Regions from separate parts of the Homo sapiens genome. Here regions 1, 3, 4, 5, 6 and 7 are each linked to region 2. Evidence: promoter capture Hi-C in 16 types of primary human blood cells and fetal thymus (Javierre and others, 2016). All regions are on one chromosome and are shown on one strand. Each heading gives the region's core, a stretch centred on a gene start or on the middle of the fragment in contact. The rest is flanking DNA. Distances are from core to core; before and after follow the strand shown. Region 1 overlaps TXNDC11 (thioredoxin domain containing 11). Region 2 holds the start of CLEC16A (C-type lectin domain containing 16A). Region 3 has its middle 22 kb from the start of SNN. Region 4 holds the start of SNN (stannin). Region 5 overlaps TXNDC11 (thioredoxin domain containing 11). Region 6 overlaps TXNDC11 (thioredoxin domain containing 11). Region 7 has its middle 30 kb from the start of LITAF.

Region 1 (3,570 bases), core at 166-2,665, 740 kb after region 2:
GTGACAAAAATTTGGCATTACCTGTTGCAGGGAAAAAACAAGACAGTAGGAAGACGATCGACCATAAATTCCCAAGGAAGGTCATTCTGAGACACGTCAATCCTGGTAAAGGGAAAGAACAGAAATGGCAGATGATCAGCCCAAGAAACACCAACTTGAAAGAACCTTCTCAGATAACTTCAAGAACCTGGTGCATTTTTTACACCCCACATTGGGCTAGTCCCTTCTCGATGAATGTACTACCAGGTGTGAGCTGGGCGCTGATACTTCCAAGACATACAACATTCTACTACGTGGACGCTTTCCACTGAGTGGCAATGTGATGTCCTGAAAGTAAAAATGAACTTGCAGAAAATGCCGCACTGACACCTGAGGAGTCATTCACTCCTCACCTGACAGGATCTAGCCAAGTATTTTAATCCCTGAATAGCTCTGGGAAAAGAAAGGAAATCATTGAGCAAAATACATCAAGCCCCTCTGAAGATGGAAAATTATACCCTCTTTATGTTGTAAATCTGGATAGAGACCAAAAACAGCCTATTTTCTTAGCAGATTTGACATTAATTTTCTAATACAGAAAATGACATCTGTACTAACTCACCCAGCCTGTGCTCAATCACTGTGGGAGCTAACCGCAACTGCTCTAGAGGCCTGCCCCGGGCAGCTGGCACAGAGCTGGGCACACAGCTGGGCGCCCACACTCGGGCTAAGCAGACATGGAGCCACAACAGCATCCTTTATGGAAGGGGCTGCATCCTCCTTGCGGAGGGGCTATTCAGCTACTATTCATAAACAGTGCACACAAAAGATGAACATGTTTTCAATCTTTACCTTGACAGAAGTTTTTAGAAAGCATAACTGGGGGGAGTGAGGGTGCGGTAAGTGTCATGTATGTGTCCAAAAGGATGAAATTTGCTTTTCAAAAAATGGCACAACCAGGCTGAGCACAGGGGCTCACGCCTGTAAATCCAACACTTTGGGAGGCCGAGGTGGGTGGACTGTTTGAGCCCAGGAGTTCGAGACTAGCCTGGGCAACATGGGGAAACCCTGTCTCTACAAAAAATTGGCCGGGTATTCTGGCACATGCCTGTAGTCCCAGCTACTTGGGAAGGTGGGAGAATCACCTGAACCTGGGAGGTTGGGGCTGCAGTGAGCTGTGATTGCACCACTGCATTCCAGCCTGGGCAACAGAGTGAGACCCTGTCTCAAAAAAACAACAACGCCGGGCGTGGTGGCTCACGTCTGTAATCCCAGCACTTTAGGAGGCCGAGGCAGGCAGATCACGAGGTCAGGTGATCGAGACCATCCTGGCTAACGCGGTGAAACGCCACCCGTCTCTACTAAAAATACAAAAAATTAGCTGGGCATAATGGCGGGCGCCTGTAGTCCCAGCTACTCGGGAGGCTGAGGCAGGAGAATGGCGTGAACCCGGGAGGCGGAGCTTATAGTGAGCTGAGATTGCACCTCTGCACTCCAGCCTGGGCAACAGAGCAAGACTCCATCTCAAAAAAAAAAACAAAAACAAAAAACAACAACAGCAACAAAAGGCATAACCAAATGAAAACCATTTACCAAAAGTTTACTAACAAAACAGCACTCCTGCCTCACCTGTGCCAGCCTACCTAAAACATTAGTGTTCCTTTCTAAACAAGTGGGAGTGAACACTATATTCCATAATTAAATGCTTTTTCTCACTTGATTCTTACTTCAAAGAAAGCAAACTATAAAATTAAAACATTGTAAAAATCCACTCAGAATTCCATTGGGCTAAATAAGGCCCCCCTTTCTTATGCAGGCTGCAGGCTTGGTCTATATGCTTACTTTTTTTTTTCTGAGACACAGTCTTGCTCTGTCGCCCAGGCTGGAATGCAGTGGTGCAATCTCAGCTCCCTGTAACCTCCGGCTGCTGGATTCAAGTGATTCTCCTGCCTCAGCCTCCTGAGTAGTTGGGACTACAGGCACGTGCCGCCACACTTGGCTAATTTTTTATTTTTAGTAGAGACAGGTTTTCACTATGTTGGCCAGGCTGGTCTCGAACTCCTGGCCTCAGGTGATCCGCCCACCTCGGCCTCCCAACATGCTGGGATTACAGGCATGAGCCACTGCACCTCGCCTATATCCTTACATATTTTTAAGAAGAGTTGTCATATATTTCATACTCTGTTCTTTTCCATTAACTGTATGAAAAGCACTGTTGAAGGATAAAAATTCCATTAAATGCCCAGCCATAATTTACTTAAACATTCATCTCCTGGTGGATGTAAACAATGCTATAATGATGAGCTCATGCTTCTTCGGAATTCCTATTCCATTACTTCTCCAAAGTAAAATTAACTGGGTCAAAAATGTGTTAACTGTTTTTGTTGATTTCTTGTAAATGTTGCCAAAATGCTTTCCAAAAGAGTTATGGCAATGTACTCATTCCATTAGATACATCTGACTGCAGTTTCCATTTTATTTTATCAACACAAGATTCTGTCACTTAAAACCACTGATTACTTTAATATGTTAAATGATACTTTGTTACTGTTTTAATTTACATTTATTAGGTTATAATTTCCCCACTTGTTTATTTACTCTCTCCTCTTAAAAGAAAAACCTGCTCACATCCTTTGTTCAGAATGGAATCGGTCTCAGCCATCTTCTAAACCATTTTAATTTCCGGGGAGGCTGGAGTATGAATGCCTGATTTAATCCTGGCCCCTCATTTGCAGCTTGAAACTCTGGGCAACTTGTCGAATCTTTCTATGTCTCAGTTTCCTCCTCAACACAAATAGCACTTTCTTTTTTTAACTAGAGTGCCTTCACTAAGCGTCGCAAGGACTCAGTCAGGTAATATGTATATCAAAAACTCTCCCAACATAGTAACTCCTCAGATTTGATTCTAATTATTACTTACAGTGCATATAACAGGTGACACAGAGACACTGGAAAATATATTAATGGTCCCCCTTTTTGTCTGCTTTCCCTGTTTTCACTGCACGTATTTCTAGTGGAATCTGTCCATTTTTCTCTCTTTATTTTTCCAACTGCTTCCACTTTGGAAAGTTTCCATCTCCCAGAGGAATCAGCAAATCCTATTTTTTGTTTTGATTTTTTTATATTTAACTCTTATCTATCTGTAGGGTTTTGGGGGAGGTGGGGGGTTAAATGTGAACAGTTTTCCTCACCCAAAACTGCTTACTACCCCATCTAAAGACTCTGTATTTGAGCCTTCTTTTCCCAAAAAATATTTTTAAAAATTTTGTTTACTCAAAAGCGCACATACAGTACCCATGGAATCACAATACCAGAATGTGGATATCTATTGGTCTTTCCTTTTAATTTCACAAATGAGATAAACCAGGGCTGGTGGAGAGATCTGCTTGGGATCCCAGGACCCACTGGCATTGCCTGGGGCAACTGTCCCATGGTATTCCACGGGGCCATCCTGGCAACCAGGTCAGTGCTCTCCCCACAGAACTGCACTCAGCCACCTACGAATCTAGTCAGGGCTAAACATCAACATCATGGAAGGAACACTCAGAATTCATGAGGAAAAGTTCAGTTTCAAAGAGGCTTTGCTCATGG
Region 2 (3,406 bases), core at 327-2,826:
GAGATTCCGAGGTAGTTCAGATCTTCAACCATAAGGATGCTTTTTGTTTCTTTTTACTTTGTGAATCATGTTTAAAAGCAATAATACACATGGCTAAACATTCAAACAACCGTGAAGTACACAGAAAAGTGAGTCTCTCCCACCCACTGGTTCCCCTGCTCTTGGGTAACCGTTGCATGTCTTTCAGGAAAACATGATCTCGCCCAAAGAGCCTTCCAAAGCAGTTCAAGAAACCTTTAAATCTCAGGCCACACTGAGCTGAGTATTTTACATGCATCGCTTAATCGGAGGTATACAAGGCAGTGTAGTATGTATGTGCGTACTTTTTACAGATGAAAAATACGAGCCCAGGGATCCTACATTTCTGAGCCTGGGTGTGTTTCTTTGGAGGCCAGATCCTGTTCTTTTTTGCTCCATGACTTTGTCTTGCCCCACTCTATATGAATTACAGGACAAACCATTAACTCTCCACTCTTATCCATTTCTCCAACTGCTGAAGGTGAAACAAACCTTTACTCATTCATGCACTCTACCAATATTTGTTAAACACCTGCTATGTGCCAAACCTTGTGCTAGGCACTGGGGAGAACATTGGCCTCTGGCCCAGTTCTTTCTTGAGCAGAGTTAATGGGACACAGTGGACCTTTAATAAGGTTGATATGTAGAAGTGACTGAATGAATGAATGGATGGTAAACTTGAGAAGTCTTGCCCACACTGAACTTACCACTTCTAATCCAGGGTAGAAGTTAGATATATTCTGGCTCATGCAGAAAGTTGGGTGTTTCCTTTTTCATTTTAACGTGGTACTTTGGGAAATAGCATGGATTCTGGCTGAAGACCAGAGGAATCCTCTGGAAGTACAAAATGTTCAGTTTGGTGCATTGTTGCATCCAGCCTTTTCCAACACACACACACACACACACACACACACACACACACACACACACACACACACACACTTAATTGAAGTGGAAAAAGAAAAAGGCTGTCAGGACAAATAAGGTTGTTATCTAGTGCCGTTTTGGTTTATAAAGGGAATGAAAAATAAGGGTGCGTGCGTGGTTATGAACCCTGGTTTTGCCACTTGTTAACTGCATGATCTTGGGTAAGTCAACCTCTCAGTGACTCCGTTTCCCTGATGATAAAATAGGTTCGATAATAGTACCCAATTCATAGGATGGTTGTGAAAATTAAATACCTTAATATGTAAAGCCCTTAGGATAGTGGCTTTGCATAGTATACACCATCCAATACTATTCTTATTCTTATTATAAATCTAGTAATTGTTACTACAGTGGTGACTTTCCTTGACCCATCTACGCCGATTCCCTCTCCGGGACTGCGCCCAAAGCTTCCAATTCCCGCCCACCCGGAGGATTCTGCGGTCGCTCCTCCTCTCGCCCCGCCTTTTGTGGATGGCCGTAGGCCCGCGGTTGCACGATGCATGCCGGGCCTTGTAGTCCGTTCGCGGAGTCCTGCCGCCGAAGGCCACGCGGGTGAACTGCATTTCCCAGCGCCCCACGCGGCGGCGGCCGTAAAGCGCGGCGGTCGAACGGCCGGTTCCGGCTGAATGTCAGTGCTGGGCTGTGGGCCGGGGAGGAAGGCGGCTCGCGGTTCCTCCACCGCCTCCGCCGCCGCATCCTCCGCTTGTGCTACCGCCGCGGGCGCTGGGCCGCTCTGCTGGTCCGGCATGAGACCGTGAGACGAGAGACGGGTCGGGGCCGCCGACATGTTTGGCCGCTCGCGGAGCTGGGTGGGCGGGGGCCATGGCAAGACTTCCCGCAACATCCACTCCTTGGACCACCTCAAGTGAGTGTGGGGGGCGTAGCGGGAGGCCTCGGGGCTGGACAGGGGGACGGGGCGCCGAGCTCCGGGTCGGGGCTCTAGGAGGCGTGAGAGCGGCGGCGAAGGGCGCCCGGGGAAGCCCGTGTGGTGGTTAAGAGCGAGGGCTCGGGAGTCAGGGCGCCTGGGTTCGAACCCTGACCCCGTCGCTCTTGGCTGTGTGACCTTGGACAAGTCGCTTAATTTCTCAGAGTCTCCGTATCCCCACCTGTAAAGCGAGAGGATGCGATTTCAGTTTATGGACACAGACTTTGTTCTTGACGGTGTCCACCAAGTTTCCTGGCGGGGTACTTCTTAAACTGAACAGCTTAGAGGGTCAAAGGCCTGGGTCCTGGAGTCGGGCAGATCTGGGTCCGAATCTATCTGTGTGAATGTAGGCCTCAGGTTCCCCACTTGTAAAAAGAGTAGAGTGACAGCACCTGCTTCCTGCTATTGTGTTGAGAGTTGGTTGGATAAGAGAATGAACGTTAAGCTCAGAACACGTACAATTGCTCATTAAACGGCATTAATTATTATAAAAGAACAGATTATTTTCCGAGGGGAGTCTAAGCTGGGGGCATGCACGCTGAGACCCAGGATTTTGGGGCGATTGGGGAGGATGATGAAAAATAGAGACCTCTGAGGAGGGAATGACTCTACAGCTCTGGGGGAGGACAGGTGGCAGATAGGGTCTTGGGACCAGGAGTGCAGAAATTAAGAGGCTGGCTTTGCAGCCACACCTGCGTTCAAATCCTGAAACCACCATTTACTGGCTGTGTGACCTTGGGCAAATTACTTCACCTCTCTGAGCCTCCAGATTCCCATTTGCAAATGGGGATCGTGAACATTGTAATGGAAATGGAAGGTGACTGACCCAGTAGGTACATAGTAGGTGGCCAGTAGTGGTAGCTGTGTTTATTATCAGCTCAGCGAGGCCTTCCCAGACCACCCTACCTAACGTGCTCCCCCCATCCCAGTTCCTATCCATCACATCTTTCTCTTGCTTTCATTGAGTGCTTCTCCACTCTCTGCGATTATTCTTTATTTTTTATTTATACTTATTTTCTGTCTTCTGTTAAACTGGCACTTCACGAGGGCACAGACTGCTTGGTTTGTTCACAGTTGTATTCCCAGCATCTAGGACTGCTCTCTGCTTACTTAAAGAGTGGAAAAATGAATGATTGAATTGGGGAGAGATGAAGAGCATGCAGGCCAGGACCCAGGATTTGGGGGCAGGTGTGGAGGATGATGAAAAATAGAGATCTGTATGAAGGGAAAGGCTTTAGGGAGGGAAATGGCGGGGATGCTGAAGAGGGGAGTAGACAAATCTTCAGTGTCAAGAAATAGGCAGGTTTCCAGAAGGAGATCCTGAGACTACTAATGGGAAAGGAGGAAGATAGGGTTAGGGATATGGTGGGAAGTAGTGGAAGGGAGACGGGGCTGTGGAAAGGATTGGTGGGAGGGAATTAGATAGGGACTTCTCATGTGTCCCCGGGAGTGGGGTAGGGGTAGTGGCAGGGCCACAGTTCTCAGCTGTGACCTTTCTAGCATGGAGCAGCATTTAGTAAACGTTTGTGAGTCTTG
Region 3 (3,550 bases), core at 333-2,832, 700 kb after region 2:
CAGATCATCTGAGGTCAGGAGTTCCAGACCAGCCTGGCCATCATGGTAAAACCCCGTCTCTACTAAAAATACAAAAATTAGCCAGGTGTGGATGCCTGTAATCCCAGCTGCTCAAGAGGCTGAGGCAGGAGAATCGCTTAAACCCAGGAGATGGAGGTTGCAGTGACCCAAGATCGCGCCATTGCACTACAGGCTGGGCAACAGAGCGAGACTCCATCTCAAAAAAAAAAAAAAAATGTTTCCTTATCCTACAATGCAGTGGTCTCCAGGATATATGGTTAAGCAAAAAAAAATAAATAACTGTTCAGGTGTGGTGACTCACATCTGTAATCCCAGAACTTTGGGAGGCCGTGGCAGGTGGATCACATGAGGTCAGGAGTTCGAGACCAGCCTGGCCAACATGACAAAACCTCATCTCTACTAAAAATACAAAAATTAGCTGGGCATGGTGGCGGGCGCCTGTAATTCCAGCTACACAGGAGGCTGAGACAGGAGAATTGCTTGAACCCTGGAGGCAGAGGTTGCAGTGAGCCGAGGTTGCACCACTGCACTCTAGCCTGGGTGATGGAGTGAGACTCTGTCTCAAAAAAAATTTTAAATAAATAAATAAATAACAGTATCCAAGGATCAGAACTATGAATGCAAAGCATGCTACCTACCTTCTCAATACACCTGTGGTTTGTATATGTTTGTTCACATTTTCAAAGAAAAACGATGGAATGATAAAGCCAACATGGGTATTTACAGGGTAAGAGGAGGCAGACTGGTGATGGAGGGGTGGAAGCTCAGCTTCTCTGAGTGTGTCTTGTTTCAGAGTTTCTATTTGGTAAATGTAAATATTTTACAAAATTACAAAGTAAAATCAAAGACAAAAAGACCGATCCCTTAAAATAAAAAAAAAAAGTAAAAAACCCTGAGTATATGCCAATTTGGCATAACCACACTAAGAAGGATTATTGGAAGTGACTTTTTTCCTTTTTTTTTTTTTTCCAGACAGAGTCTCACTCTGTCACCCAGGCTGGAGTGCAGTGGCACAATCTCAGCTCATTGCAATCTCTGCCTCCTGGGTTCAAGCAATTCTCGTGCCTCAGCCTCCCGACATACCTGGGATCACGGGAAGGCATTGCCATGCCCGGCAAATTTTTTTGTAATTTTAGTAGGGATGGGGTTTCACCATGTCAGCCAGTCTGGTCTTGACCTCCTGACCTAAGGTGATCTGCCCACCTTGGCCTCCCAAAGTGCTGGGATTGCAGGTGTGAGCCACTGCACCCAGCCTCTTCTTTTTTTTTTTAACTTTCATTTGAAGTTCAGGGGTACAAGTGCAGGTTTATTACATAGGTCAACCTGTGTCATGGGGGTTTGTTGTACAGATTATTTCATCACCTAAGCATTAAGCCTAGTACACATTAGTTATTTTTCCTGATCCTCTCCCTCCTCCCACCCTCCACCCTCCAAAAGGCCCCAGTGTATGTTGTTCCCCTGTATGTGTCCGTGTGTTCTGCCATTGAGCTCACAGAAAGTGACTTTAAAATAGCATTTTGAGGCTGGGCACGGTGGCTTATGCTTGTAATCCCAGCACTTTGGGAAGCCGAAGCGGGCAGATCATGAGATCAGGTGTTTAAGGCCAGCCTGGTCAATATGGTGAAACCCCGTCTCTACTAAAAATACAAAAATTAGCCAGGTGTGGTGGCACATGCCTGTAATCCCAGCTACTTGGGAGGCTGAGGCAGAAGAATTGCTTGAACCCGGGAGGTGGAGGTTGCAGTGAGCTAAGATCGTGCCACTGCACTCCAGCCAGGGTGACAGAGCGAGACTCTGTCTCAAAAAACAAAAATAGCATTTTGAGCCAGGCACAGTGGCTCATGCCTGTAATCCCAGCACTTTGGGAGGCCAGGAGTTCGAGACCAGCCTGGCCAACTGTAATCCTAGCTACCCGGGAGGCTGATGCATGAGAATTGCTTGAACCCAGGAGGCAGAGGTTGCAGTGAGCCGAGATTGTGCCACTGCACTCCAGCCTGGGCAACAGAGCGAGACACCATCTCAAAAAAAAAAAAAAAAAAGCATTTTGAGCAGGGCACAGTGGTTCATGCCTATAATCCCAGCACTTTGGGAGGCCAAGAGTTCGAGACCAGCCTGGCCAACATGGTGAAACCCTGTCTCTATCTACTAATAATAAAAAATGAGCTGGGAGTGGTGGCACACATATGTAATCCTAGCTACCCAGGAGGCTGACGCAGGAGAATTGCTTGAACCCAGGAGGCAGAGGTTGCAGTGAGCCGAGATTGTGCCACTGTACTCCAGCCTGGATAACAGAGCGAAACTCTGTCTCAAAAAAAAAAAAAAAAAATAGCACTTTGATTGTATTATACCAGATATTATATATCTCTAGTGGGTTTTACCCTAAGGACAAAAGAACCACCATGAAACAGAACTACATTGAAATCCTCACCTGTACTCAGTTATCTTATAGGTAGTGATTATATTAGCATTCTGACAGTGAAGCTGTCAGGTTTTTGCCATCTCTTGCTTCCTCTCTCACCACATGATCTCTGCACATGCCTGCTCCCTCTTTGCTATCCACCATGAGTGGACACGGCCCAAGGCCCTCACCAAATCCAGCTGCCCAATCTTCAACTATTTTTTTTTTCTTTTTTCGAGATGGAGTCTTGCTTTGTCACCCAGGCTGGAGTGCGATGGCACCATCTTGGCTCACTGCAACTTCTGCCTCCTGGGTTCAAGCAATTCTCCTGCCTCAGCCTCCCAGGTAGCTAGGATTACAGGCGCCTGCCTCCACACTCAGCTAATTTTTTGTATTTTTAGTAGAGATGGGGTTTCACCATGTTGGCCAGGCTGGTTTCGAACTCCTGACCTCAAAAGATCCGCCTGCCTCGGCATCCCAGAGTGCTAGGATTACAGGCATGAGCCACCACGCCTGGTCCCAATCTTGAACTTTTAAACCTCTTTTCTTTGTAAATTTTTAAAAAGAAATGATTATCTTTGTAATATAGGATAAAGAAAATAAGAAATTGGCCGAGCACGGGGGCTCACACCTGTAATCTCAGAACTTTGGGAGGCCAAGGCGGGTGTATCGTTTGAGCTCACGAGTTTGAGACCTCCTCAAACTGGCGAAACCTTGTCTCTATTAAAAAATACAAAAACTAGCCAGGCTTGGTGGTGCATGCCTGTAGTCCCAGCTACTTAGGAGGCTGAGGTGGAAGGATGGCTTGAGCCCAGGAGGTAGAGGTTGCAGTGAGCCAAGATTATGCCACTGCACTCCAGCATGGGTGATACAACCAGACCTTGACTCAAAAAGAGAGAAAGAAAGACAGGAATGAAGGAATGAAGGAAGGAAGGAAGGAAGGAAGGAAGAAATTGTGTTAATGTTGTTAGAAACCCAGATTTTCTATGTTAGAAAAAAGGAGATATATGCCGGGCCTGGTGGCTCACACCTGTAATCCCAGCACTCTGGGAGGCCGAGGTAGGCGGATCACCTGAGGTTAGGAGTCTGAGACCAGCCTTGCCAATTTGGTGAAAACTCATCTCTACTAAA
Region 4 (3,646 bases), core at 117-2,616, 720 kb after region 2:
CAGCCTGAGTGACAGACCAAGACCCCGTCTCAAAAACAAAACAAAAAACCCCAAGGGAGCTACTCTTGGCTGGGCGATCAGGGAGGGCCCTCCTGAGGAAGGGGCACTTAAGCTGAGATCGGGAAGATGAAGTAGAAGAGTTCCAGCTGCAGGGAGCCACATAGGCAAAGGCCTGGCGGTGGGAAAGGCTTGGTGCACTGGGCGCAGGGAAGAAAGCCCAGCGAGGCTGAGTGGAGGGAGTGAGGGCCTGGCCACCTCAGCCTCGTGAGCCCAACCCGCCATGCTCTTCCAGAGGCTTCTGCTTGAGAATGGGAAAGAAGTTTCCAGCAAATAAGGCCCCCGTTCCCAGGAGGAGGTCCCAGCTCGCCCTGCCCCCTCCTGTCTTCTCAAGTCCCCTGGGCCACAGAAGCCTTGAGGGACCCACCCTCACCCCTTCTGTGGGCCCCAGGGCTGGGGTGTCCTCTCGCCGATGGCCTTCTTGGGGTGGATGAGTGGAGATTACTCCAATAACTGGAGCCTCTGTCTTCCCAGGTAGACAGGCCTGGCCTCAAAACCCTCTCTCCATCAGGAGCAGGCTGTGGGACTTCAGCTCTTTGGAGCCTCAGGTTCCTCATCTGTAAAATGGGAAGATTCTTTCTTCCGGAGTCATCTTAATAAAATGTGTTGGGCTGTTTATACAGGGCAGGCATTTGGTGGGGGCCAAACCACCGGGTAATTATGCTAAAAATAACTATGATTATAGGTGGCAGAGGGGTGCAAATGCCTCACAGCCTCATCCCGCAGAGGAATGAGAGCTTCGTCAGGGCCGGGACCTTGTCTGGCTCGTGGCTGCTCCCACGACGACTGGCGTGGCAGGCACGTGGTCAGTGTTCCGCCATCGACTGACTGGGCGGATGAATGATACATAAATGAATTCGCGAACGACTGATGCCCAGCTTCCTCCCGAAGCAAGGTCATTCACCTCAGCGGTCGCGCCTCTCCCCTGCCCCTGCCCCGGATTCCCCGCCGCTCTCAGCTCTCGAGGAGTATGCAGCACTCTTCCGTGCAGCGTGCCTCAGTTTCCTCCGCTGTAAGCAGGCGGGACCAAGGCAGCCTGCCGGGGTCAGGATGAGGCTGGCAGAGGAAGGGCGCCTGTAGTGGGGCCCCGTACCCACGGGCGCCCAATCCGCGCTCGCCAGGGCCGAGCCCGCCCGCCGCGCGCAGCCCCCGCCCCACCGCCTGCCGGCCCCGAGCACACGTGACTCCGCCCCGGCCCGCCCCGCCCCGCCGTCCCAGCGCGGGCTCCCATTGGCCTTTCTGGGAGGCCCCGTCCCCAGCCGGGGAGGAGCCGGGCCCCGCCCGCCGCAGCGCGGGGCTCCTGCGTCCCGAGTGCGCGGCGGCCGGACCGGGCGGGCGGAGCCGGGCCCGCGGGGCTGCTGCGGGGCGATCGGGCCGGGCCGCTGCCGCGCCATGGTGAGCCGGGCGGGGCAGGCCGCGCGCTCGGGCCGGGCGGGGGCGCCGGGGCCCGGGGGCGGGAAGGGGGAGGCCAGGACGAGGAGGGGCGCGCGCGGCGGCGGGGCCGGGCCGGGGTCTGCGGGCGGGGGAGGGGCGGCCCGGCGGGCGCGGCTCGGGGGAGGGTCCGTTCCAGGGGCCGCGCCCGCGGGCTGGGGTTCTTTGTCAGCGGCGCTGCGGCGAGATCCGGACAAAGGAGGCGGCGGGGGGCGGAGGCCGCTTTGTGGGGATCGCGGGGCGCTCGCCCCCGCCCGTGCAGCCCCCGCCCGTCCTCAGCTACGCTCCCGCCTTCCCCCGGCATTTCGGGGTTCTTCAAAATTCTGGGAGCTCCGGGGAGGGCTCCGGGGATAGGGGTCCAGGTGACGTCCGGCGCCCGTCTCGCGGGTAGGGAAACTGAGGCCGGGCCGCAGCGTTCGGCGCCCGGTTCCGTGGGCAGCGGCTGCGCGGCGTGGGCATGCCTAGCTCCCCTGGTCCCCGTCCCACACCCCGCCTCCGTCGGGCCGATTCGAGCTACCTCCCCAGCTGCCGTCCCCTCTCCAGCTGTCGCCCCCTGGGCCGAGCCCCCTCCTCCCTGGAGCCTCGCTTTGCTCCTCCGTGGAGTGGGGGAGACGCCGGCGCCGCCGGGCAGGGTGGAACGGGAGGGTGCGCGGAGCGCGCCTGGCACCGCGCCTGCCACGCCGCCCGCGCTCAGCACTCGGGAGCCGCCGGGGCGCTGTCACCCCTAAGTCCCCAGCACCCAGCCCAGGTCGCCCAGCCCGCCCCAGCGAGGGCCACACTGGGGTTCACCTGTCCGCGGCCCCTCAGGCACGCGGGAGAGGAGGTAGGGAGAATGTGGCATTTTAGAGTCAGGGTCGAAATGCGGGATTTTGGATGCAGGTTGCCTGGGTTTGAATCCCTGCGCGTCTACTTTTGAGCTGTGTGACCTTGGGCAATGGACTTAACTTCTCTGAGCCACCAATTTCTGTATCTGCCAAGAGGGAACAGTAATAGCTCAACTGCCCTGTTGTCTTGAGGCAGAAAGGAGACATCTGCGTGAGCTGTTTATCTCAGTGTCTGGCACATATAATTGCCACCAACTTTCTCCGGCATCTACAAGCAAAGTTGTTTGGCCAAACAGGCCAACCCTGGGGCAGCCTGTGAAAATGACCAGCGGGTGATTCACAGGGTGGGGGCATGAGCCTCTGGCCTGGCCCGAGGAAGACCCCGACTGACCTTGGGGCAGTCCCGGTTCAGAGCTCTGCGGGCTCCCGCTTCCTCTTTTGCCACTGGGGAACCTAGGGGATTCTGGAGCGAGTTTCCTCTTCTGAGGATGGGGGTGTCATGGGTGGGGGTGGAGGATGAGATAACACTGGCCAGAGAGCTGGGCACAGCCCCATCAGTGTCAGTCCCACTGGCATCCGGCCGTTCTTGGTCCTGGCTTCTGGAGGGCTGGGGCCTTGTGTGATGCGTCCTTGTGTCCCACTGGCTGCTGGAGGCCCAGGGCAGAACGGACGTCCCGCCTCGTCCTGGCTGTGTCCAGCAGTGCCCTCTTCTCCCTACAACCCTGTTTTCCCAGTCAGAACCTGGGGCAGGAAACGTTTCTGGTTTGTGACCCGGGGTTCGCTGAAGAGTTTGTTGGCACCCTTGGCAGGTGGCTTTATGGGGGGAGGCAGTACTGAAAGCCCCGTAGGGATGGCTGGTCCCCTGTAAGCAGGGCAGCCCTCCTGGCGTCTGTCAAGGAGCCTCAGGAGGTGGCGGCTGCAAGGCGGGGGTGTTTTGCTGGTGGTGAGCCCGGCAATGCTCATGATGTGCCCGGTTGAGTTAGGAGGAGGCAGCGTGTCCCTGGGGAAGGGGTGTTTGTGGCACTGGGCCTGGGCCAGGCTCTGTGCCCTTCTGGCCCTGGGGGTGGGCTTGGGGATCCCTCGGGCTCAGTGTTCTCCCTTTGTCCCTGCTGTAGCACACAGGAAGGTGTGGCTGGTGACATGCAAACCTGGTGACCTCATGTCCCTTTTGTTTTCACTTTTCTTACCACTTCTCATCCTCCCCACGACCTGGTAGATGAGGTCAGGGACTCGTATCCGCTTTGCGCATTGAGAAACTGAGGCCAAGAGGAGCAGCTTGCTTGGCTGGGCGGAAGCAGGCCGCAAAAGTGAGTGCTGGTCTGGGAGGATGGAGG
Region 5 (3,527 bases), core at 197-2,696, 790 kb after region 2:
TGCTATTTGGTATATTTTGCAAGACAAATGGTTTCACAAGTGTCACGATGGGCTTGACTAGTGAGTTGTTTCACAATTAATAAAGTACTATCTATCTCTTGCCAATGAGACAATCTCATCTCAGTGACAAGCCCAGCAAAAGATGATACTAACCCGATAAAAGCCACAGCTTTTGGGAGGAAGTCATTTTAAAGGCTGACAGAAGTGATCTAGGGACCCCATCTTGGTAGCACTCTTGTGGTTCCCATTTTAAAGGCAGTCCAGTTTAATCACTGTTGTACATCACTCTAAGTGGGCTGCCAAAAAACTTAATGTAATGTTTTAAATGTCATCAGCAGTAATGTCGTCAGTAGATTAGTGAGTCTAACATGAACTCCACACCAATACTTGGAGGATAGTCTTTTAAAGTACTGCTGGGCTGGGCATGATGGCTCACACCTGTAATCCCAGCACTTTGGGAGGCTGAGGCAGAACGATCGCTTGAGCCGAGTTCATGCCACCACACTCCAGCCTGGGTGACAGAGTGAAACCCTATCTCAAAAAAATAAAATAATCCAGCCTGGCCAACATGGTGAAACCCCATCTCTACTGAAAATACAAAAAATTAGCCAGGTATGATGGTGCATGCCTGTAATCCCAGCTACTTAGGAGGCTGAGGCAGAAGAATCACTTGAACCTGAGAGATGGAGATTGCAGCGAGCCAAGATCATGCCACTGCACTCCAGCCTGGGTAACAGAGTGAGACCATCTCTAAATCAATCAATCAATCAATCAATCAATCAATGGAGTACTGCTAAAAGCAGGTCTGTCTGACTCCTGATTCTTCACCATTTTGCTGTGCCATCCCGAGTGGCTCTGGCTGTAACCCACTGAAGAACCATGTCAAAACCCACTTACCACAACTTTACTGTTAGAAGGAATCTCAAGGATACCCTGGCCCAGGCCCCTGATGCCCAGGAAGTGAGTAACCCGCCCCAAATCACAAACCCAGTGAGTGTGCCAAAGGGATCAGGCCCCAGTACCCTGCCTCTTAATATAGCCCTCACCCACCAGCCTGCCCAGGGAAAATGAGAGGCAGGCCTCTGAGGTGCACAGACATCCATCTGCTATCTATGTAATTAAGGAATATTTACTCTGATGCATAGCTAAGAACTAAAAGCAGAATAACTAGATATACTGCTGCTTGGGGAATCTCTGCTAATAGTTAACACATATGTAGTTTCCAACATGACTGAATAAAGCTATACTGATGTTCTGGTGAAAAAATGTGTATCCAATCTATACAGAATATAAATAGTGCGAACAGTAAAATTCAACTAGCCACAATTCTAAACTGTCAGGAAGGTCTGGATATACATGGTTTTTTAATCTCTGTCAGGTATTTATGGTCTTGATTTTGTTGTACCTAAGTATCATTTTACTTGTACTCAAGTATGATTTTACACTTGCTCCAGTGAATTTTTTGCAGAACTACTTTTATAATTTTTTGAGGCTACATCTTTCAATAATCCCAATACTGGCCTCACAATAAGCCATTCTTAACATGCATTAAAGATCCTACAGGGCTGGGCGTGGCGTCCCACACCTGCAATCCCAGCACTGTGAGGGGAGGCCAACATGGGAAGATCACTTGAGGCCCAGAGTTCAAGACCAGCCTGGTCAACATGGTGAAACCCTCTTTAGTGAAAAATACAAAAATTAGCTGGGCGTGGTGGCACTGCCTGTTATTGCAACTACTTGGGTGGCTGAGGCACAAGAAGCACTTGAACCCAGGAAGTGGAGTTTGCAGTGAGCTGAGATTGCACTCCAGCCTGGGTGTCAGAGCAAGACTCTGTCTCAAAAAAGAAAATACCATAAAAATAATTTACCAGGGGTTGAAGTTGGCAGTGGGGAAGCAGGAAAGAAGCTACATCAGGAAAGTTAGAAAACTTTCTGCAATTAAGACCTTCAAATAGTTATATACTTCATAATATGGAAGGGAACATATTTCCAGTTTTCAAAAAAACCAAACTACAACTGACAAGAGAAACCAGGTATCTCATAGTACAATGCTATGAGAAGTGTCAAGTAATATTCTTAGAAATTTGCAGTTGCACATAAATTGTAAGTTAATTCTCATCTACTCTAAGTTAACTGTAAGGCAAGATGAAAATCTGTTGAAAATTCCCTAACGAAAAACAAAGACTTTGCTAGTACTCTATTCTCTTAAAACTCTCTTGGACAAACCATCCTTATAATCAGTATCTCAAAAAGCATTTAACTGGGGCTGATCTATCACATGACCTTTTACTTGCTGCAATTCAGGAGGTATTTTTTTAAACCCCTTTAAAACAAACAATCCAATACAACCCCGTGAAAGGCCTTGAGTATGGAGGAGGAGATATGAAAGACAAGTACCTCGTAGTTTGAGAGAAAATCTAGTAATTCTGATTGAGATGGGATGTAGAGAAGTGGTTTCATCACCCGGCGGACAAACTTCTCAATGTAAACAGCACTCATGGGGCCTTTGTATTCGATTGGTCCAAAACTAGTACCAAAAAATAAAAATAAAAATAAAAATAATAAAAATAATACACCATGCATTAAGCCTGTAATGTATAACTAAAATCATCACCACCACAAAATGAAAGTGTCTTGCTTTGGGATCCAACCAAGTCACAGATCAGTAGCCTGCTTTGCTCAGGAGGTGACCAGAGAATTAAGAACAAGCATTTTGGGTGAGGAGAGGCACAAGCAGCCCCTACCCTTCTATGATCTTGAATTCAACTGCAAACTGAATTGCCAAACAAGGAACATTTACTCTTATCTCTGAAAAAAAAATTAATTCCCACAGTAGTTCTTTTAAAAACAAAACAGAGAGACAACCCTGGAAATTGACCACATGCTAAGGGATTCCAGGATTTAACTATACAATTCAACGCAGGCGGGCAGACTTTCCTTCTACTAGTCACTGTGAGGTAAGGGACAGGTTGAACAGTCAGCCCTTGGCCTACTAAAAAGAAACAGGCAGACAAAGGATCACTGAATGAACCTTAAACCTATTTGAAGCTTTATTACAACAATAACAAATTATGTGAAGGTCTGAAGTCAGTGACCTGTTTAAATAATCTTTCTTCCTTTCCCCTCCAGTTGTGCCTGGGGACACATAGAATTGGATTCAGTGCCGCTAAGTGATACCACCACTATTCAGTTATCCTCCTAAGCTAATCAGAATTCTCACGTGCCTCTCTTCAGTCTCACACAATACAGACACTGCCCAAATATAATTGGATGGTAGGTGGCAAGGGTTGGGGGGTTATGGTGAAATTCAACAACTGCATAATCGTTCTTTTCTCTAAACAGAAATTGACATTAAGCTTACTGTTAACAGCAACAAGAGCCCAGTGAAGAATTTTATAAAGGCTGTGATTATAATACCATAATACATGGTTACAGAAATTCACACACACACACACACACACACACACACGTGATGGGATAAACACAATTCTTCCATGTGCACTGCAGAATGATGTTAAAGGAATATT
Region 6 (3,408 bases), core at 289-2,788, 760 kb after region 2:
GGGGACTGGAAACGGGAAGGCAGGGCTGAGGAGGCCTGGCACTGAGTAGGCCTTTTTGTATCTGACTCCTAGGGCCACAGTGATGTATCACACACCCTTCACACACTCCAAAATTAAACAATTAGTTAAAACCAAGCGAGATGTGGCAAACCCAACGTGGAATACAGCACGTACAAATAACCCTAACTATTGCAAACGGGTAACACCATGGTGAATGGGACAGGAAGAAAGAACCTAAGTAACTGGAAAACAGTATCTTGACTGGATGCTGTAAAACTAAAGGCAAAAAGAACTGTACATAAATGCTGTAAATCTAGGTAGTAAATGTGTTTCTTAAAGAGGTATAAGTTAGCAATTCTGAAACTATGAACTTATTTACTTCTTTGTGGTAAGTACATTATACATAATTACAGCCAGGACTCTCACTGTTGCAGTAAGAAGTTATATATTAATAAGAGAAGGCTAAAATAAACCCTGTGATGTTAAATTGAAATCAGAGAGAATGAGTATAAACTTAAGGCTTTTGATACACACACACACACACACACACACACACACACACAGAGGGAGAGAGAGGGGATGGATAGAGAAATACAGATATATGCACATGTGTGGGTATAATACACTTCCTAGTTCTATCTACTGAGAAGACCTAGAAGTAATGACATCCTAATACCAAAGAGCATACCTAGCACGTAGATCTTGGTTTCTAAATGCCATTCTCCAGTAAAAGAAACCAGGGCCCTTGGAGAAGAGGTTGATTCCAGAGCTGGGGTGAAGAAAGTACAAGATAAGCCTGAAATATCTTGTATCAGAAGTAAAGAAGTGGGCTGGGCATGGTGGCTCACGCCTGTAATCCCAGCACTTTGGGAGGCCAAGGCGGGTGGATCACCTGAGGTCATGAGTTTGAGACCAGCCTGGCCAACATAGTGAAACCCCATCTCTACTAAAAATACAAGAATTAGCCGGATGTGGTGGCACGCACCTGTAATTCCAGCTATCTGGGAGGCTGAGGCAGCAGAATTGCTTGAACCCGGGAGGTGCAGGTTGCAGTGAGCCGAGATTTTGCCATTGCACTCCAGCCTGGGTGACAAGAGTGAAACTCCGTCTCAAAAAAAATAAATGAAGTAAAGAAGTGCTCATAAAAGGATGGGGGTTTGTCCAAAGGACCCAGGAGCCAAGCTGAAGCCCTCCTAGTAGCCAAAGTTGGAACAATTTGAGCAACAAAATAAACAATGACAGTACACAGAATAAGATAAATACCCATGACTCCATAATAATATTAATGAGAACAGTCAGCTCTTCTTTAAGGGAGAATTCCACTAATAATGAAAAAAGAATGAAAGAAACAGAAAATAACCATTTGAACACCAGAGTAATTGTTGCAGGCAAGATCCACTGATGGAGGCTAAAATTCATGAGCAGAAGTTTGAGGATATATTTACATAGTGTCAAATGATCTTCCCCCAAGGTATTTATTTATTAATTACAAAGGAAGAGATAGTAACTTTTCAGTGGAGAAACACAGCAGACACTACTTTAACCAACTGATCAAAGTTAATGTCACCAGTAGGAGACACACTGACATCATATGAACCCCCTGATAAGAAGTGCTGAGAAGTACCTATTTCTATGGTATTGCTGTCAAAAGACATGACCTATTCCAGTCACAAGAAAACAGACAAAATTGAGCAATTTTCTACAAAATACCTGAGAAATATTCTTCAGAAGTGTCAAGGTTATAAAGGACAAGGAAAGACAGAGGATTTGTCATAGGTTGAAGGAAACTGAGAAAAAAACCAACACATTGCGATATGGGATCCCAGACTGGATCCTGAAACAAAAACAGACACTAGTGGAAACATGGAGACAATTCAAATGAGGTCTGCAGTTTAGTGAATAGGACCGAACCAATGTTAACTTCTTTTTCTTTCTTTTTTTTTTTTGAGACAGATTCTTGTTCTGTCGCCCAGGCTGGAGTACAGTGGTGCATCTCGGCTCACTGCAACCTTAAGTGATTCTCCTGCCTCAGCCTCCCGAGTAGCTGGGATTATAGGCATGCACCCCCATGTCCAGCTAATTTTTCTGTATTTTTAGTAGAGACAAGGTTTCACCATGTTGGCCAGGATGATCTCGAACTCCTAACCTCAAGTGATCCACCTGGCCTCAGCCTCCCAAAGTGCTGAGATTACAGGTGTGAGCCACCACACCCAACTCTAACATTGACTTCTTAGTTTGTACAAAACCACCTAACAATTGGTTATGTAAGATGTTAACAATGGGGGAAACTGGCTAAAGACAGGCAATTATGGAACTCTCTGTTTTATTTTTGCAACTTTTCTCTAAGTATAGAATTAGTTGAAGATTTTTAAAAACTTTGTTTAAAGGGCATGGCATATAAGTCCAGATCCCAAAGCTGTCAGAAGAAACAGACCAAAGAGAGGACGTGATTTAGTAGGACCAAAACACCACTCTCCAGAAGCAGCTGATCTTGGAGGACAGTCACAGTTAAAAGAAGAGAAGGAAAAGCAGCCAGTAAGGAAATTCATTTGATAGCCTGCCAAAGTCACCATCGTGATTTATTAGAGCAGAGAAATAAGAAGTGACAGCCTGACCCAAAAGTTAAAAGGGGCCATTCAAAAACCTGTTTAACTGCCTTAATAAGAATGGACAGTCTGCCCATACAGAACAAATTCTAACATGCTCAAACATATTATAATTTCAAAACTTTATTTTTCACACATAACAGAAATGTACAAAAAACACGCTTCTATTTAAGTTCTAGCATATGGTGGAAATCTTGCTAGAAGCAGCAGCTTAAATTTGCAGTCTCACGTGAACAAAGAATACTTAGATTAGCAGAGGAAGTTTATAGCGTAAAGATGACACAAAAAACCAGCATGTCACATCTCCTTATCCAGAGTGTTTTCTGATAAGCAGAGCTCCAGGGCTTTCTACGACAGAAGTCTTAGTCATTTATAAAATGAATTATTTTGTCCTAAAAGTAATGAATTTTCAATATTTTAATTAAGAACTTGGAATTTGTTGGACAATTAAAAATAAACTAAGACTCATACTCTCCCCTCCTCTACTCAAAAAGGTCTAAAAACTGCAGTATCCCATTCGATTAAAAAAAAAATTCTCCATTAGCCTGGTAATTGGCCAGTTCAAGATCTCTGTTAACCATACAGTGACAACTGGTGTCAATGATCACTGCAAGATGTAATGAAATCTTGAAGGAACATCTGGGTAAAGAATTAGTTACTAACCAGTTTCCACAGCTGCTCATGCAGGTGGCTAAGAAGGTCAAGGTGACCACAGCCAGCATGTCTCTTGGCGCCACTCACCCCTCAGGGAGGGAGGGTGCTCCTTGGCTGCTTGCTACAGAGGGTGCTGAGCCCTGGGCCC
Region 7 (3,437 bases), core at 1-2,500, 670 kb after region 2:
TACAAAAATTAGCCTGGCATGGTGGTGCATGCCTGTAATCCCACCTACTCAGGAGGCTGAGGCAGGAGAATCGCTTGAACCTGGGAGGTGGAGGTTGCGGTGAGCCGAGATCACACCATTGCACTGCAGCCGGGGCAAAAAGAGTGAAACTCCGTCTCAATAAATAAATAAATAGCCAGGTGTGGTGGTGCATGCCTGTAATCCCAGCTACTCAGGAGGTGGAGGTTGCAGTGAACCGAGATTGCACCACTGCACTCCAGCCTGGGAGACAGAGTGAGACTATGTCTTTAAAAATAAATAAATAACTAAAATAAAATAATAAAAAAAGAAAAGTGAAGACCTATGTGGTATAATAAAAAGTATCTGCTTGGTCTTTGTTCCCTGTCACTGGTTCCTGGCACAGAGCTGCCAAAGCCCTTGGACCCTCCTCAGTGATTAGAGTATCTTTCGTATGCTAATGGGATGACTCAAGATGACTCAGTGTGGGGGTACCTAGATAGCTTTGGAATGCTTAGAGGGTTAGAAGGTTCAGTTCACCCACTCCTCACCTCTGGGGAGGGGAGAGGGACTAGGAGTTGGGTCCAATCACCAATGGCCATGATTTAATCAATTATGCCTACGTCACGAAACCTTGATAAGAACCACTAGATAGGTTTCTGGGAGCGTTCAGGTTGCCAAATACATCCACTACCTGGGAGGTGGGGCACCCCAACTCCACGGGGACAGTGGCCCTACATTCAGGGCCCTTCCAGACCCCACCCTATGCTCCTGTGCATCTGGCTGTTTGTATCTTTTATAATAAACTGGAATAGTGCTGGACACCGTGGCTCCCACCTGGAATCCCAATGTTTTGGGAGGCTGAAGCAGGCAGATCCCTTGAAGCCAGGGATTTGAGACCAGCCTGGGCAACATGGCAAGACCCCATCTCTAAAAAAATTTTTTATTAAATTAGCCAGGCATGGTAGCACGTGACTGTGTTCCCAGCTACTCAGAAGGCTGAGGTGGGAGGATTGCTTGAGGCTAGGAGGTTGAGGCTGCAGTGAGCTACGATTGTGCCACTGCACTCCAGCCATGGGTGACAGGGTGAGACCCTGTCTCAACAAAACAAAACAAGAAAAAAAAAAAGAAAAAGAAAGGGGCTTATGATGAATAACAAAAGATGTACCTCTCATCTTTGCCACTCAGGAAATTACGAGGACCTTAGAAGCTCTGTCAGGTACGTGAGGCAAAGACCAAATACATATTTCCTATTGTATCACAATATCACAGGCTACCCTCTGGCCTTTGAACACAAATCCCTTACAGTCAGATGATCATAAACATCAAAAGATGCCCGGAGTGGGCAACATAGGAAGACCCCATCTCTACAAAAATTCTTAAAAATTTACCGGGCATAGTGGTGCACACGTGTGGTCCCAACTACTCAGGAGGCTGAGGCAGGAGGATCACCTGAGCCCAAGAGGTTGAGGCTGCAGTGAGCTGTGACTGAGCTACTTAACTCCAACCTGGGAAAGAGAGCAAGACTCTATCTCAAAAAAAAAAAAAAAAAAAAGATGCCAGCAGGGCGCAGTGGCTCACATCTGTAATCCCAACACTTTGGGAGGCCGAGGCAGGCAGATCACCTGAGGTCAGGAGTTCGAGACCAGCCTGGTCAACATGGTGAAACCCCATCTCTACTAAAAATACAAAAATTTGCCAGGCGTGGTGGTGCAAGCCTGTGGTCCCAGCTACTTGAGAGGCTGAGGCAGGAGGATCGCTTGAACCCGGGAGGCAGTAGTTGCAGTGAGCCGAGCTCACACGAATACACTTCAACCTGGGTGACAGAGCGAGACTCCAACTCAAAAAAATAAATAAATAGAAATAAAAAAGATGCCAGCACATTGCTAAAATCCATCAGTCCTTAATAACGATACAGTCCGCCATCCCATGAAATGTATGAAAATGTCCCCCAGGGTAAGGCTGCCCAGGCTTGCAGGCTTCCATTCTGTCTTATCAAGTTCTGAAAGCAGGGGCAGTCCCAGCAATATATCAATATATGGCTTCACTCTTTTTTTTTTTTTTTTTTTTTTTTGAGTCGGAGCCTTGCTCTGTTGCCCAGGCTGGAGTGGAGTGGCACAACTCACTGCAACTTCTGCCTCCCGGGTTCAAGGGATTCTCTTGCCTCAGCCTCCCAAGTAGCTGGGACTACAGGCTCACACCACCACGCCCAGCTAATTTTTGTATTTTTAGTAGAGACGGGGTTTCACCATATTGGCCAGACTGGTCTCGAACTCCTGACCTTGTCATCCGCCCGCCTCGGCCTCCCAAAATGCTGGGATTACAGGGGTGAGTCACCGTGCCTGGCCTATATGGTTTCAATCTTTCAGGCATCTGGTATAACTGAGCCAAGGGACAACGCCATCTCTTGATCTAAGCCTCTTTGAAGGTGTTAATGTAATATTAAATTTCCTTCCCTCCGTAACCTATTTATTTATTTATTCATTCATTCATTTATTCATTTTATGTATTTGAGACAGGGTCTCACTCTGTCACACAGGCTGGAATGTAGCAGCTCGAACATAGCTCACTGCAGCCTCAACCCCCTGAGATCAAACGATCCTCCCACCTCAGCCTCCCAAGCAGCTGGGACTACAGGTGCATGCCACCACAACCAGCTTCCAAAAAAATTTTTTTGTTCGAAGAGATGGGGTCTCACTATGTTGCCCAAGCTGGTCTCAAACTCCTGGGCTCAAGTGATCCTCCCCAGTCAGCTACTGGGATTACAGGCGTGAGCCACTGCACCTGGCCATAACCCATTTATTTATTCTGTCTTTTACCTCCAGCTATTTTTGTTTCTTCTCTCCATTTATGCCCAAACTTTTCCCCCTTGGAAGAGACATTCCGTTCTGCCACTGTGCTGGTCTAGATTGCAGGCAGAAATACTAGTCTAGCAGGTGCCTCCCCTGGCAAGGCGGGAGGAGAGCCCTGAATTTGTAATCAGCCAGGCAGAAGTAGGGGTAGCCTGGGGACGCCATTTGCACTGGTGTCTGAAGTGGGAGCAGTCCTGTGGGACTGAGTCCTTTGACCGTGCAGTCTGCACTAACTGTGGGCAGCTTCTGTCGGAACTGAATTGAATTGCTGGCCATGCAGCTGGTGTCAGAGAATCTGGAGAGCGTGCTTGATGGGCTCCCCGGGCTTTCGCTGTGTGCGATGGGCTAATAGCAAGATAGTTTCTCTCTGGCCATGGAGCCACTGGCCATTGTCCCCGCCTCCCAGTGGGTGGAGCATTTCTGGGGGTGGGGAGGGGGCGCTTCATAGAGCTGCAAATTAAAAACCCCCGCACTGGCCGGCCGCGGGGGCTCACACCTGTAATCCCAGCACTTTAGGAGACCGAGGCGGGCGGATCACGAGGTCAGGAGTTCGAGTTCAGCCTGGCTAACATGGTGAAACCCTGTCTC

What was found. The method cuts DNA at HindIII sites, captures the fragments that hold promoters and counts their contacts. A CHiCAGO score of 5 or more calls a contact.
Region 1: a contact is called between a fragment that was not itself captured here and the fragment with the promoter of CLEC16A in region 2, in 9 of 17 cell types (total CD8 T cells, naive B cells, naive CD4 T cells and 6 more). The highest score is 9.6, in total CD8 T cells.
Region 3: a contact is called between a fragment that was not itself captured here and the fragment with the promoter of CLEC16A in region 2, in 1 of 17 cell types (fetal thymus). The highest score is 6.6, in fetal thymus.
Region 4: a contact is called between the fragment with the promoter of SNN here and the fragment with the promoter of CLEC16A in region 2, in 9 of 17 cell types (activated CD4 T cells, total CD8 T cells, naive B cells and 6 more). The highest score is 13.1, in activated CD4 T cells.
Region 5: a fragment that was not itself captured here is called in contact with the fragment with the promoter of CLEC16A in region 2 in 12 of 17 cell types (activated CD4 T cells, naive CD8 T cells, total CD8 T cells and 9 more); the score reaches 14.1 in activated CD4 T cells.
Region 6: a fragment that was not itself captured here is called in contact with the fragment with the promoter of CLEC16A in region 2 in 10 of 17 cell types (naive CD8 T cells, activated CD4 T cells, erythroblasts and 7 more); the score reaches 12.9 in naive CD8 T cells.
Region 7: a fragment that was not itself captured here is called in contact with the fragment with the promoter of CLEC16A in region 2 in 1 of 17 cell types (activated CD4 T cells); the score reaches 5.9 in activated CD4 T cells.

What each region holds. Positions count from the first base shown.
Region 1 is chr16:11,684,144-11,687,713 of GRCh38, forward strand. TXNDC11 (thioredoxin domain containing 11) reads right to left here. Exons shown (of 12, transcript NM_015914.7): 11 at 22-102. Among named protein-coding and RNA genes, the nearest start is that of SNN, 17 kb to the left of the region's middle. The HindIII fragment of the contact is 6,503 bases long and covers 1-3,570 here.
Region 2 is chr16:10,942,988-10,946,393 of GRCh38, forward strand. CLEC16A (C-type lectin domain containing 16A) reads left to right here and starts at 1,577. Exons shown (of 24, transcript NM_015226.3): 1 at 1,577-1,810. The coding sequence starts at 1,731. It also overlaps a transcript of CIITA not described here. RefSeq lists enhancers at 1,190-1,369, 1,590-1,649. The HindIII fragment of the contact is 6,288 bases long and covers 1,351-3,406 here.
Region 3 is chr16:11,644,878-11,648,427 of GRCh38, forward strand. No RefSeq gene overlaps it. Among named protein-coding and RNA genes, the nearest start is that of SNN, 22 kb to the right of the region's middle. The HindIII fragment of the contact is 8,808 bases long and covers 1-3,550 here.
Region 4 is chr16:11,667,089-11,670,734 of GRCh38, forward strand. It overlaps SNN (stannin), which reads left to right and starts at 1,367. Exons shown (of 2, transcript NM_003498.6): 1 at 1,367-1,452. RefSeq lists a silencer at 1,040-1,459 and an enhancer at 2,567-2,666. The HindIII fragment of the contact is 10,329 bases long and covers 1-3,646 here.
Region 5 is chr16:11,728,248-11,731,774 of GRCh38, forward strand. TXNDC11 (thioredoxin domain containing 11) reads right to left here. Exons shown (of 12, transcript NM_015914.7): 4 at 2,398-2,527. Among named protein-coding and RNA genes, the nearest start is that of TXNDC11, 13 kb to the right of the region's middle. RefSeq lists an enhancer at 282-341. The HindIII fragment of the contact is 3,200 bases long and covers 1-3,046 here.
Region 6 is chr16:11,702,982-11,706,389 of GRCh38, forward strand. All of the region lies in intron 5 of TXNDC11 (thioredoxin domain containing 11), which reads right to left. Among named protein-coding and RNA genes, the nearest start is that of SNN, 36 kb to the left of the region's middle. The HindIII fragment of the contact is 4,582 bases long and covers 1-3,408 here.
Region 7 is chr16:11,615,380-11,618,816 of GRCh38, forward strand. It overlaps a transcript of LITAF not described here. Among named protein-coding and RNA genes, the nearest start is that of LITAF, 30 kb to the left of the region's middle. RefSeq lists an enhancer at 1-167. The HindIII fragment of the contact is 7,613 bases long and covers 1-3,437 here.